Linked DNA regions of Homo sapiens: all the other regions are linked to region 3. Evidence: promoter capture Hi-C in human tissues and cell types (Jung and others, 2019). All regions are on one chromosome and are shown on one strand. Each heading gives the region's core, a stretch centred on a gene start or on the middle of the fragment in contact. The rest is flanking DNA. Distances are from core to core; before and after follow the strand shown. Region 1 overlaps LOC105373960 (a long non-coding RNA gene). Region 2 overlaps RAMP1 (receptor activity modifying protein 1). Region 3 holds the start of KLHL30 (kelch like family member 30).

Region 1 (4,338 bases), core at 750-3,249, 210 kb before region 3:
TCCTCGGCCTCCCAAAGTGCTGGGATTACAGGCGTGAGCCACCACGCCCCGCCTTTAATTTTTGTATTTTTTAGTAAAGACAGGGTTTTGCCATGTTGGCCAGGCTGGTCTCAAGCTCTTGGCCTCAAGTGACCCACCCACCTTGGCCTCCCAAAAGTGTTGGGATTATAGGCATGAACCACCATGCCCGGCCACGTTACGATTTTTAAAGTCTAACCTAACCAAACTGTCAGAAACTTAAAATGACAACACTTTCATTCCAATTAATTGTACTAGAATGTTCCAAGCAAATATCCCCTTCCTTCCCCAGGCCAGGGCCCAGCCATGCCTCCCACTCCTCCAGGCTGCTGGGCTAGTTGCTGGGTCCTGGGGTGGCCCACAGGGACTTTGCCTACTGTAATTTCCACCAGCACCCCCAAGCCACCCCAGCTAAACACACAATTGAAGTACAAATAGCATGTTCACCATCTGAAGACGAGTCACCTATTTTCTGCTTCCAACTGGACTGTGTTCTCAAGACCCCCTGCATTCATTTATATCGCTGGGTAACATATTTCCCGGCTGGTGAGAAGTCCCGGCGTGGCCCAGCTATGTCCTCTGAGATGGCAGGGTCTCATGAGGCTGTCACCAGGTGTCCGCTGGGTCACATCCTCCTCTTGCAGATGCAGGAGGCAGACACATGCCTAGGCAGATGGGGCAGAACCCCAGTGAAACCCTACCTCCAAGACAAAGACAGTTTAAAACCTGAAAGCCAAGCTACAAGTCAAATCCACGGACCAGATTGAGAACCCGTCTTCCCGTTTGGTGCACTTTCCTCTGATTGATCCCCACCCTTCACCTATTTTACAGAAACCTACCCTACCCTAATTGGTTTTTTACACTGTCATGCCCACCTTTGAGCAGTGCCTTTGTTTTAACCTTTTTTGCATACTCACAAACCAATCAGCACACACTCCCCATTCTGAGCCTATAAAATCCCAGACCCAGCCACACTGAAGGAGAGACCACCCAACTTAGAGTGGAGGACAACCCTTGCATCCCCTCTCCACTGAGAACTTTTCCATCACTCAATACAGTTATTATCTGCCCTCCTCATCCTTCGATGGTCAGGGTAACCTCATTCTTCCTGGACATGAGACAAGAGTTCAGGAACCACCAAATGTGGGTAGGAGCTATAACACAGGCAGGCTGGGGCACACATGGCCCAGCTACGGGCTGAGCTGGTGCACAAGCTCAGTGCAGCCCAGTGGACTGAATGGGTGGGGCATGTGACCAAGGGGCCCTGGCTTTTGCTGGCCTCTGACTGAAGGTCCCCCTCAGGTCCTTGTTAGTGGTTTTTTGTTAGGTGAACTTATAACATAACACGGTCCTTATTTCATCAAGCCAGGAAGGAGAATCTCCAATGTGTGCTGGTAAGATGGAGGCTTGTCTAGGTATCTATAGTAACTCAGTCATGGGAGTGACATCCTGTCACCTGTGCTATATTCTACTGGTTATAAGCAAGTCACAGGTCCCACTCACACTCAAGAGGAAGGGATTATATAGGGCATGAACCCTAGGGTCTTTCTGCCATACCCTCCCACAGGGAGATTTTTGAGCTGGCACTGGCAGGGCCCTGGGGAGGAGTTATGGGATGCTACACTGCCAGGAGCAGAGGAACTGTGCAGGGTTTGTGCCCTCACAGGCACTCAGATTCACAGTGACTGGCCCAGAAAGACGAAAGGCATTTAACATGGTAAAGCCACAGGGCTGTACCTAATGGGACCTTTTGCCATGTGCCATTATGTGTGATGTTAACGGTGGCCCTGAGTTGTGCAGCGCACACCTGCGCAACTGTTTGCAGCAGCCCGGACCCCCACCTGTGGATGAGAGGCTTCTTCAGAGCACTGCCTCGCTGATGATCATTATCTGGTCGGACTCCAGTTCCACCAACAGACCATATGTCTGTGCAGCTGAGTTTACTTTACACTACATCCTCTTTTCCAGCTATTCTGTGACTTCTCAGTTCCTCAAACACACCCGAAGCTTGAAATATTTTCTCTGGAACTTTTGGCTCTGGTTTTACCCTCTGCAATTCAAAACTCACAGCCTCTCAGAGTTTGTTTATTTTCTTACACTGCTGGGTGAGTCTCTAGAAACGAAATATCAAAGCCAGCTGGAGTCTCAAATGAGAATCCTGATTATTCCAGAGCAATGATTGTCACAGTTGTCATGTAAGTGGGGGCAGCCCACCCCCCACAATGCATTGCAGTGGCAGTGCCACAGTTACAGGTTAGGCACATGCTCCAAACAGTTCTATTCATCCCCAGGCATCCTTGGCACAGCTCAAGACTGTTTTTCAATTAACAATAAACGTAGAAGGTGCCGGCCGGGTGCGGTGGCTCATGCTGTATTCCCAGCACTTTGGGAGGCTGAGGTGGGCAGACCATCTGAGGTCAGGAGTTTGAGACCAGCCTGGCCAACATGGCGAAACCCCGTCTCTTCTAAAAATACAACAATTAGCCAGGTGTGGTGGCACGCACCTGTAGTCCTAGCTACTCGGGAGGCTGAGACAGGAGAATCGCTTGAACCCAGGAGGCAGAGGTTGCAGTGAGCCAAGATTGTGCCACTGCACTCCAGCATGGGCAACAGAGCGAGACTCTATCTCAAAAACATAAATAAATAAATAAACAAACAAACATAGAAGGTGCAGAATTTTAGAACAGCAATTGCTGAGCTTGTATCTGGACCCATTTACAGAGATAGACCATATTCTAGGCCAAGCTTATCCAATCCGCAGCCTGTGGGCCACTTGTGGCCCAAGATAGCTTTGAATGTAGCCCAACGCAAATTCATAAACTTTCTTAAAACATTATGAGACACTTTGGGAGGCTGCGGTGGGTGGACCACTTGAGGTTAGGAGTTCGAGACCAGCCTGGCCAACATGGTGAAACCCTGTCTCTACTAAAAACACAAAAATTAACTGGGCATGGTGGCGCATGCCTGTAGTCCCAGCTACTTGGGAGGCTGAGACACAAGTATCACTTGAACCCTGGAGGTGGAGTTGCAGTGAACTGAAATCATGCCACTGCACTCCAGCCTGGGTGACAGAGTGAGACTCTGTCTCAAAAATAATAATAATAATAATAATATGTTTATTGCATTTTTTTTTAGCTCATCAGCTATTGTTAGTGTTAGTGTATTTTATGTGTGGCCCAAGACAATTCTCCTTCTTCCAAATTGGCCCAGGGAAGCCAAAAGATTCGACACCCCTGTAATGCAGGTCATAAAGTCTCAAAAATGTTTTTGAAGAATGCAAGCTGTACTAAGTATGTTTTCTGACCACAGTGGAATCAAATGATAAACCAGAAACAGAAAGATCTCTGGAAAATCCCCAAGTATGTGAAACTGGATATCACACTTCTAAATAATTCATGAGTCAACCAAAAATAAAATTAGAAAATATTTTGAACTGAATAAAAATGAAAATGCAACATACCAGGCTGGGTGTGGTGGCTCATGCTTGTAATCCCAGCACTTTGGGAGGCCAAGGCGGGCAGATCACGAGGTCAGGAGTTCCAGACCAGCCTGGCCAACACAGTGAAACCCCATCTCTACTAAAAATACAAAAAATTAGCTGGACATGGTGGCAGGCATCTGTAATCCCAGCTACTCAGGAGGCAGAGGCAGGAAAATTGCTTGAACCTGGGAGGCGGAGGTTGCAGTGAGCCGAGATCATGCCACTGTACTCCAGCCTGGGTGACAGAGCGAGACTCCGTCTCAAAAAGAAAAATAAAAAAAAAGGAAATGCAACATACCTAAGTTCACAGGATGCCCTTAAAGCAGGAATCAGGGAAACGTAAAGCCTAGATTGTAAATGAAGAAGAAATGCCTGTACTTTGAACCACCTGAAGAAACTAAAGAACAAAGTGGCGTCTCAGACCGTGCATCCAAAGCCCACTTTTTCTTTTATTCCTTTTTTTTTTTTTTTTTTTTTTGAGACAGTTTCACTCTTGTCGCCCAGGCTGGAGTATAGTGGCACGATCTCGGCTCACTGCAACCTCCGCTTCCCGGGTTCAAGCGATTCTCCTGCCTCAGCAGGAGTAGCTGGGATTACAGGCACCTGCCACCACGTCCGGCTAATTTTTGTATTTTTAGTAGAGACGGGGTTTCACCATGTTGGCCAGGCTTGTCTTGAACTTGTGGCCTCAAGTGATCTGCCCGCCTCAGCCTCCCAAAGTGCTGGAATTACAGGCGTGAGCCACCGCGCCCGACCCAAAGCCTGATGCTTCGCGTGCTCCTCCTCTCTGCCTCTCCCCTGCCTCAGCAGCGGCACCGCCATCCTCCAAATCACACAGA
Region 2 (4,722 bases), core at 491-2,990, 250 kb before region 3:
AATAGAAGTAAAAAGTGAATGGAAGACTCCTCATGGCCTGGTGCAGTGGCTTTCGCCTGTAATCCCAACACTTTGGGAGGCCAAGGCAGAAGAATTACTTAAGCCCAGGAGTGTGAGAACAGCCTGGACAACAAAGTGAGACTCCATCTCTACAAAAATTTTAAAAATTAGCTGTACATGGTGTTGGACACCTGTAGACCCAGGTGCTTGGGAGGCTGAGGCGGGAGGATCACTCAAGCCTGAGAGGTCAAGGCTGCAGTGAGCCATGATGGTACCACTTGCACTCCAGCCTGGGTGATAGAACCAGACCCTACCTCAAAAAAAAAAAAAAGAAAAGAAAAGAAAAAAAAAAAAGAGGCTCCTCCTCTGCACAGGGGTCATTCCTGGGTCCCTGCCCTGGCCTGTAGGTCCACTTTTTTTTTTTTTTTTTTTTTTTTGCGCATTCAGGGTTTGTAGCCACTGCGCTTGCCCTGGGACCTTGGCTGCCCGGCATGGATCTGCACGCAGGTGCTTGCTGGGTTCCGACAGCCCTTGCCCTGACCGTGACCCCACTCCTCCGCTCATCCTGTTGCTTTGTTACCTGGTTGGTGGATTTTGTCAGGTTGTCTGTTGTGAGCAAGGCTTGGGGGTGATTCCTGAGCCCTTTCTAACACGTGTTGGGTGTCTTCCACTCAGCTACATGGAACAGGTCCCTGAAAAGTGGCTGAATGAGCTCAGCGGGGCCAGGCTCCCCTGCAAGCTGGCTGGGCCGTCATTTACCAGGGGTTATCATCTCATTAAGCTGCAGCCTTGGTTTGCTGATGGAGGCATAATGTGATTTAATGTATTAACTGGAGCTACAATCTAATTTGAGGAGGTATAGAAAACCTGGCAAATGTGTCATCGGGAACTCTCATTTCCAGAGACCTTCCTATGGGTGTAGGGGAGGGAGAGAGAAGGCAGAACAGAGAAGAGAAGAATCTGGAACGTGCTGGACTCGGCTATAAAACATGGGTTTTTAAAAGCCTCACGTCAGATTTCCTCACCTAAATAAGAAATGCTCGGTTGATTTAAGAGGGAAGGGGACACGCCTATTCCACCCCACCCTGTATGGCTTCAGGGTCTGAGTGCCATCTTGGGCAGGGGAAAGGTGTCCTCGGGGAAGATGCCAGAGGATGGGGCCACAGCCTTCCCAGCATCTGAGGTCACTGGGCCCCAGAGAACCAGACTTCACTTCCATACCAGCTGGGATGCCTCCGTCCCTCTGCCCTAAAGCTTCCAGGTTTGTAAATACTGACCATGGTAGCCTCAGGTCACCTCAGCTTTGGTTACCCGAGGCTGTCACTGCGGACCCTGCCCTGCCCTGCCGACCCCATGCTGGGCAATCATGGGCCCTCCCCCAGCCCAAGGAGCTGCTCAGAGGACGGGGCTCCAGGCCCCAGGGAGTGGGGCTGCAGCCCAGCGTGGTAGTTGGGGGACGCAAGACAAATGTCTGCAGTGCCTGCTGTGGTACGGCGGCTCAGCATGGCCAGCGCCAGGCATGACGCTCTGGGTCCACACGACGTTGGGCAGGGTGCACCAACACTTTGGGGTCCTTCCCAGCCTGCTGCATTTCCCTCCTGCTGCCTTCTTTGTGTCTCCTGCTAAAAGAGTCAAGTCAGGAAATTCTTCAGAACTCAGCAGCAACATGGGAACAGCTGCTTGTATTTTGAATTTCAGCAGGAACTGAGAGGGAGGCTTCTTCTGAAATCACGAGGGCTGTCTGGGCCAAGGGCAGGGTGTCCTCCTGGATTTCTGCTGAGCTCGACCCCCACGAGGTCTCGGGATGGGCTGTTCACAGAGCCCTGCCCGCCGCCTGCCCCTGCCCGGAGGCCTGGCCCTGGAGCCCACCCACCTCCCTGAGGCCTGTCGTGAGCATCAGGAGCTCCCAGTACAGCATCTGGGGCTGCCTCGGTGCCCTCGTGGGTTTGTTCATGGCGGTGTCCGCCCTGGAACTTGCCACATGCCCACGAGCACTGGGACCCCTCTGTGCTCTCCCTGGTGGCTGTGGTGCTGTCATCCCTGTGTGTGCTGGTGGAATAGCGTGGGCTCCACGGAAAGGCCCTCAGGCGTGGACAGGACAGATGGCAGTGCCCAGCACAGCCAGGTCTCAGAGGATCCAAAGGCGAGCATTGCCCAGGCCGAGGCCGCCCTCCCTGCCTACTGACCTCCCTGCCCACCGCCACACCATCGCTCCTGCCGTGCCCCTCTCTGTGTGTCTGCACCAGGCGTGAAGCCAGTTCTTGTGAGGAAAGCCCTGGCTAGATGTCTGTTCCCCCACCCTCTGCCCCCCCTGGGTGGGAGAATCTTTCCAGGCATCTCCAGAGCACACCCCAGGGGCACGGAAACCCGGCTGCTGACCCCTGACCTCCTGGGGCCTTCAGCACTAATGGCCAGCCCCGCGGGAGGCAGAGGAGCAGGAAGAGCCCCTGGGAGCCGGGTCCTCGAAGACTCCAGGCTATGGCTTACAGAGGAGAAGGGGGCAGAGGAGGAGAGAAGGAGGTGGCTGTGCCAGGAAAGACATGCAGCTCGCGCAGTGACACCAGTCTGGCTCCCCTGAGGACGCCACTCCTGTGGCCTGCGCAGGCATCAGCCGGGGTGCCGGGTCCCCATGGGGACGAGCTGTAGACACAGCTGTCCAGGGCTGGGCAGAGTGGGGCAGTGGCTGGGGATATGCCGGCCCTGCCCAGGCCGCCCCACGGGGGTGTCGTTCCACCTTCCTGTAGTCTCCTTGGCGCGCGTGACCGTGGTTGTGCAGGGAGCGCCTTCTGCTGGTTTTCAGCACTGGAGAAATAAACCAGGGCTCAGAGTCCTTGGCAGCCGCCCCTGGAATGTGTTCAGGTCAGGGGTTGCCTCACTTAACGTGCGCGCCATGGTGGGTTCTGATGAGGATCCCCAGAGGATCTGATGACACCTGCCTGCTGGGCTGGGGGGCTCTGGAATGGGGAGGAGGAGCCCCATTTCCCTTCTCAGAAAGCTCCAGGAGAAATGCATCTGTGAGGACCCACAGAGAGGAGCCCTCGTGTTGGGGGAGCTTGGAGGCTGGGGCTGGAGCGGGCGACTGCTGGCCTCACCCCTCCACACCCAGGGACCACCTTGTCATCCTCAGCACATCTTTTTCGGAAGTCTTCTGGCCCTGGGGGAAGGCACAGATGGAGAGACCTTCCCCAGACCCTGTGGTGACTTAGCGCGGAGCGTGGCACTGAGCCCACCATGGCGTCTTTCCCATCAGGTGATTAACTGCCTGGTTTCACATCCTCCTGAGTATGGGGATGAAATCAGGCCTGTGCGTCAACGCGAAAGGTCAGACATGCGGTGACGCTAACCAGATCCCGGCAGTGAGTGAAAGGGTGGGCAGGTGGAACACGTCTGGTGGCGGGGGCTCGTCGTAGCTCAGCATCCACCCCCGCCTCCCCTGTGGACACTCGACTACAGCAGCCACACCCCCAGAAAGCCCTAGAACCATCCAGGCTGTGCAGACGGGACTTGGCTGTCCTGGGACACAGGCCAGTTTGTGCACACAGGGCTTCACTGAGCCCCGAAGGCGGCCTCCTGGGCTGCCCATGGGGAAGGGGTGGGGGTGGGGTGGGGGAGAGAGGATGAAGATGTGCCCTTGTGTGTGACACCTCTGGCTGTGGGTCCTGTGTGGGGAGGGCAGTGGGTAGAGGACAGAGCAGATGTCCCCTCCTAATGCTGACCTTCACTCCAGCCCCCAGGCTGGGCCATGGCATCTCCCAGGATCTATCCATTCATCACTCAGATGGTAGACATCTCCCAGGCACAGGCAGGGCCAGCAGCATTCTCAGTCCCCTGTGGGAGGGCCTCCAGGGAGCAGTGGCACCTCACAGCCTTCCCTGTGCATAGTTCGAGGACACCGAGTATCTTGCGGGACCTAAGCACAGGGTGCCCTTTGGGATGCGTCTTGGGACAGGCCTTGGGTCTGAGTCCACTCTTGTTTCAGCTTCTTGTCTCAATCAAAAAATGGAGAATGCACTTTCTGAAAAAGAGACTGAGTTTACCCTCACTGCCCAGGCAGTGGAGGCCGCCTCACTCTAGGGCAGGCCACACTGGCACGCTGTGGTTCCCTACTCCTGCTCGAGTTAAAGCCATTTCCTGGTTTTTGCTATTATAAATGATGGAGCTGGGCACAGTGGCTCACACCTGCAATCCCAGCACTTTGGGAGACCAAGGCATGTGGATCACTTGAGCCCAGGAGTTCGAGACCAGCCTGGGCAACATGGCGAAACCAGGTATCTACAAAAAATGTAAACATTAGCTGAGTGTAATGGGCGCACCTGTAGTCCTAGGGAGGCTGAAGTGGGAGGATCGCCTCGGCCCAGGAGGTTGAGGTTGTGCCACTCCATTCCAGCCCAGGTGACAAAGTGAGACCTTGTCTGAAATAAATGACAACACTATAAGAACTTGTGTACATATATCCTTTGTTTTTTTAAAAAAGATTTTGTTGTTAGACATTCCTGGGAGAAATAATTCATGCAAGTAGGCTTACTGTAGCATGTACCATGAACATTCTGTGGTTCTGGGGGGTTTTTTTTTGAGACAGAATCCTGCTGTGTCGCCCAGGCTGGAGTGCAGTGGCACAATCTCGGCTCACTGCAACTTCTGGCTTCTGGGTTCAAGCGATTCTCCTGCCTCAGCCTCCCGAGTAGCTGGGATTACAGGTGCCTGCCACCATGCCTAGCTAAT
Region 3 (4,631 bases), core at 1,258-3,757:
TTACATGTTTTTGTCTGCTGTACTAGTGACCTAGTGCTGCATAGTCAACTGCCTGAAATCCAATGTCCTTGAACAGCACACACGCATGGTCACACGCATCGTCTCTCAGTTTCTCCTCGGGAGCACGTGTGTGGGGTGGCTGCACCTCAGGATGTCTCAGGAGGGTCCCATGAAGTGCTCAGCCCAACTGCAGTCATCGGAAGCCTGGCCTGGGGCGGGAGGGTCTGCGGGCTGGGACTATAGGTGTGCACCGCCACTACTCCTGGCTAATTGTTGTGTTTTTAGTAGAGATGGGGTTTCACTATGTCGGCCAGGCTGATCTCAAACTCCTGACCTCAGGTGATCCACCCGCCTCAGCCTCCCAAAGTGCTGGGATTACAGGCATGAGCCACCATGCCCGGCAGAAATTCAAAATCTTCAAGTGCTGATCCCATCAGAAACGCCCACAATATAACAAGGTGTGAGGAAAGGGCGCTGACCCACACACGCAGGCAGGCTCATTTTGACAACAGGAAAGAGCTGGAAGCATACTAATGGCAAATGATCTTTTACTAATGACACTTTCTGCTTTTTATTTTTCTGTTTTCCAAAAGGAACTTGTGTTATTTTTATCCTCATAAAAAGAAACAAGTGGTGTATTTTTAAAAACTGCGCCACTCAGTAGCAATCTCTTGATGGAGGATCTGTTTTGCGCCCCCGGTGTTGAGTTTCCCAGACTGACCTGTCATCTGAGGTGCTGGGGCTCCGAGCCCCACGACGGCTGCTGTGAGGCCTCCACACTTGGCAAGCAGTGCTGTTCCCCGAGCAGAGCCAGCTCCCCGTGACAGCAGCCTGTCATCAGAATCCCCTGTCCTCATTTCCTCCAGCCCGAGCCAGGACTGCAAACAAGGGGGACAGTACGGAAACCCAACACTCTAGCGCCCACCCCATAGTGGTCCTGGACACAGCGAGAGTTGGGGTCCTCCATGAGGGTCCCCCACACAACATGAGGCTGATGCCCAAGGCTGGGGAAAAACCCTGGGACAGTGTGGGACACGAGCAGGGGAAAGAGCAGGAGCAGGGGCCAGGCTGGGCTGGGCTACGGCTGGGCTACGGCTGGACTATGGCTGAGCTGGGCTGGGCTATGGCTGGGCTATGGCTGGGCAATAGCTGAGCTGGACTGGGCTATGGCTGGGCTATGGTTGGGCAATAGCTGAGCTGGACTGGGCTATGGCTGGGCTATGGTTGGGCAATAGCTGAGCTGGGCTGGGCTATGGCTGGGCTATGGTTGGGCAATAGCTGAGCTGGGCTGAGCTATGGCTGGGCTATGGCTGGGCCAGGCTGGGCTGTAGAGGAAGCATGGACTCAGGGAATCTCTATGGAAGGTAACCCTAAGGGCACCTTGCAGACTTGGCAGTAATTTGTAGGTGAGCTTCCCCTCCATAGGCTGTGTGCATCTCAGGACCAGGAGTGGGGTTCTGTCTCCCTGGGGGCCGCCTGGACCTCTCTGGTCTGTAAGAGCATTAGGACAATCCCTAGTAGCATCAAGAGGCCACAGCCAGACCCAATACTCCCCAGTTCCTCCAGGTCGCAGCACACCTGGAAATGGTCATACTGCTCAGGCCCACATGGCCGATGGGTAGAGGGCTGAGGGCTGAGGGCTTCTCTCCCATGCACCTGAAGTCCCTCAGCCACAAAGCTCTGCTCTGGTCACTGGTGTGAGAAATGTCCAGTGGCCTCTTGGGTCCCCAACTCAACCCACCTGACCTTGGTCAGGGCCTGTGGTTCTGAGCCCATTTCAGTCCCAGGCGTGAGAGCTTCCCCCTGCGACTACCGTGAACCAAGTGCTGGACGGGAGGCTGATAGTCCACTGCTGTATTTTTAGGTGACCCTGTTTCTTAGCCGTCCTGGGCAGCCCCGAGGCCAAGGCCATGGGGTAGCAGGGCAAGGAGCCCCAAGATCTCCCCTATCCACGCTAGCTGGGCGGGGCAACTGAGTGTGGCACCTCCCCTCTCTGGGCAAAGTTTCCCTACCGCCACCATGGACCCCAAGCTCGGAAAGCCTCTGCTGACCAACCTGTGCTTATTCATGATAATCACGTTTTCCCACGTGACAACAGAACAAGAGGACACATAGGTGCCGCTGACATCAACAGCGAGGGCAGCACCTGTCGGTGTCCTGGCCCTGGGCTGAGGGTCTCTGTGACCCCAGGCCCCCACCACGGGCTCCACTGTACTCAACTTGTAGACGAGGAAACAGGTGGGGAAGCTGCATCCCTGCCCCCACCAGCCAGCCCAACCGCGACAGCTTTCACCTGTCCTTGCCCTGGAGCCCTTCCTGATGTCTGTCCTAGGCCACAAGTCCCTGGAAGGCCTCAGTGGGCTTTCTGAGCTAACAGTCACCAAGGAGCCGGCATCTCACTCCTTCCCCCACCAGCCCAGCCCTCACTGCCTGACCCTCCCCTCGCCCTGCAGACAGAGGCTAAAAATACCCTCCCCACGTGGCCACCAGACCAGCCCTGCCCCGCCCTGCAGGCCTCCGTGTCCCCTGGCTGCCGGCTAGGCAGTCCTGCTCTCTCGGGTCTGTGTTCTCAGCTTCGAGGTCCAGGCTGAGTGAGAGGTAGGATCCAGGGGGCTCTGGGGCAGGGGACAGCAGAGAGGGCAGGGGGAACCCAGCCAGGAGCAGCGGGGAGGGTGGGTTAGGCCCCCGAGGCCAGGGATCACAGCAGGGTGCTTTGGAGACGCCCCCTGGCCCTTGCCAGCGGCCAAGCCAGGCTCCTCAGGGTGGGGGCTCAGGAGACAGGTTTCCCTCCATGTCCCAGCCGGAGAGGTGGGAGGGGGAGGCTGGGCCACCCCTCAGATGGCAGCCAGGGCCACTCAGCCACAGTCGCCAGCCTGGCTGGGCTCAGGCCTTTTGTTGTCCTGCCCACTCGGCTTCCTCACTCCGGGCCTGGGCAGGCACTGGGGTGAGGCTCTGAGACCCTCAGGAAGCCCCGACCCATGCAGGGACTGCAGGGTGACAGGTGTCAGCAGGCACCCCGAGGCCCCCAGGGGAAGTGGGGGCGCTCATGCGTGCCTGCCCATCGCCCGGCAGCAGCTGGCCCAAGGGAGCACAACAATGACGGGAATGTGAGGCCTGCAGGCGGTGGCCCAGGGACAGCCCTGTCACCTACTCAGGCCCCAGCTCATCTCCCGGCTGCCCAGGGAGGGCAGAGCCGCCTTCACCGGGGCCAGCGCCTCCTGGGGAGGGGCCAGGCAGGAACCCCATGCATGCAGTGTTGGGTGGGTACTTCGTGTACCGGCCGGGATGCTGGGGTGTGGGGCCCCGGCCACGTGAGCTGCCCTGTGCGCGAGCCCGGGTTGGTCCGCGAGGCCCTGTGGGCTCCCAGGTGCTTCCCCGCTCTGGGGTCAAGAGGTGGCACCGGGGTCGGGAAGTCGGGGAGCCCTAGCTCCCATCGCCTGCACCTGTACCTGCACCGTGGCTGCCCGGGCCAGATTCTTGGCCTCCTGGTTCTCCAGCTGAGCTTTGTCATTTCCATGCGTGGCGTTCCCACGCATTTTGTACCTGTGGACGCGCGGCCGCCTCTCCTGCCCGGGATGGCCCCGCGAGGCGCCCCCTAGCGGGCGAACGGCCTCTCCGCTGCGCAGCCTTTCGCCCTGGGGTGACCCGGGTCGAAGGCTTGTGCACAGACTTGATCTCTCCTAGGGATGGTTGTCTTAGGGTGCGATACCAGAAGGACATAAACCACATGCACATAATTACATGAGCCTGAAAGCGGCCTTGCTGACTTCAACCATGCGGGCGTGGTGACGCGAAACCCTCCAGAACGCTGCCTTTGGCTGGCCGTTTCTGTTTAGCAGCCTCCACCCGGCCACGTGGAATGCAGGGTTCAGAGCCTGGGCCCCCAAGCCTAGCTCTGAGTTCAAATTCCAGCTCCACCACTTCCTAAATGTGTGATCTTGGGCAAGTGACTGAAACCTTCTGTGCCTCAGTCTCCCCAGCTGTAAAAGAGGCAATGATTGCACCCACCCTCCAGGACTGTTGTGGGGCTGAGTGGTGAATGCACAGCTTCTCTGCATGCTTGGCACGTGGCCTGGCACCTGGGAGCACCGCGGGAGCAGGAGCTGCTGCAGCCCCCAAATGGCCTCCCCAGCAATGTGGGATCTGGGACGGAGGACGCCTCCCGGGAGTTTGGGTGTCTCCGGGGTCCCTGGGGGGTGGGCTCAGTGTAGCCCAGGGTTGCAGATGACACCCAGGGCATGGGTTCTTTTGCCAACCCTGTTCTGCCCTGAATGCCTGGCCATGGGTAGGTCTCCCACCCTCTCTGAACCTCAATTTCCTCACTGCAAATGGGAATGACACCTGCCCTACCTTGCAGGGTTCTGGGGGTGGCTTGAGGCAGATGGGGGGTAAAGTGACTGGCATATGGTCGATGCCCATCCTGTGTTTATCAAGGGGTGGAAAGGGCTGATGGACAGACCGGGTGGGTTGCTCAGGAGGATGAGACCATCCCCACTTGGCTGACCCTGCTCTCTTCTCTCCTAGGAGCTCGGGCGGCTCCAGGCACTTCTTCCCTTGAGTGGGTGGACTACTGAGGTCCCCTGGGCACGGCGTCATGGTGCGGAACGTGGATGACCTGGATTTCCACCTGC

What was found. The method cuts DNA at HindIII sites, captures the fragments that hold promoters and counts their contacts. A contact is called where the count stands out against the background at its distance.
Region 1: a contact is called between a fragment that was not itself captured here and the fragment with the promoter of KLHL30 in region 3, in 2 of the 25 tissues and cell types used here (aorta and heart left ventricle).
Region 2: a fragment that was not itself captured here is called in contact with the fragment with the promoter of KLHL30 in region 3 in 2 of the 25 tissues and cell types used here (H1 embryonic stem cells and bladder).

What each region holds. Positions count from the first base shown.
Region 1 is chr2:237,929,551-237,933,888 of GRCh38, forward strand. The region is part of intron 1 of LOC105373960 (a long non-coding RNA gene); the gene reads right to left. Among named protein-coding and RNA genes, the nearest start is that of UBE2F-SCLY, 35 kb to the right of the region's middle. RefSeq lists an enhancer at 3,762-3,931. The HindIII fragment of the contact is 4,595 bases long and covers 1-4,297 here.
Region 2 is chr2:237,883,500-237,888,221 of GRCh38, forward strand. The region is part of intron 2 of RAMP1 (receptor activity modifying protein 1); the gene reads left to right. Among named protein-coding and RNA genes, the nearest start is that of RAMP1, 26 kb to the left of the region's middle. The HindIII fragment of the contact is 5,036 bases long and covers 1-4,258 here.
Region 3 is chr2:238,136,161-238,140,791 of GRCh38, forward strand. KLHL30 (kelch like family member 30) reads left to right here and starts at 2,508. Exons shown (of 8, transcript NM_198582.4): 1 at 2,508-2,598; 2 at 4,525-4,631. The coding sequence starts at 4,595. The HindIII fragment of the contact is 32,785 bases long and covers 1-4,631 here.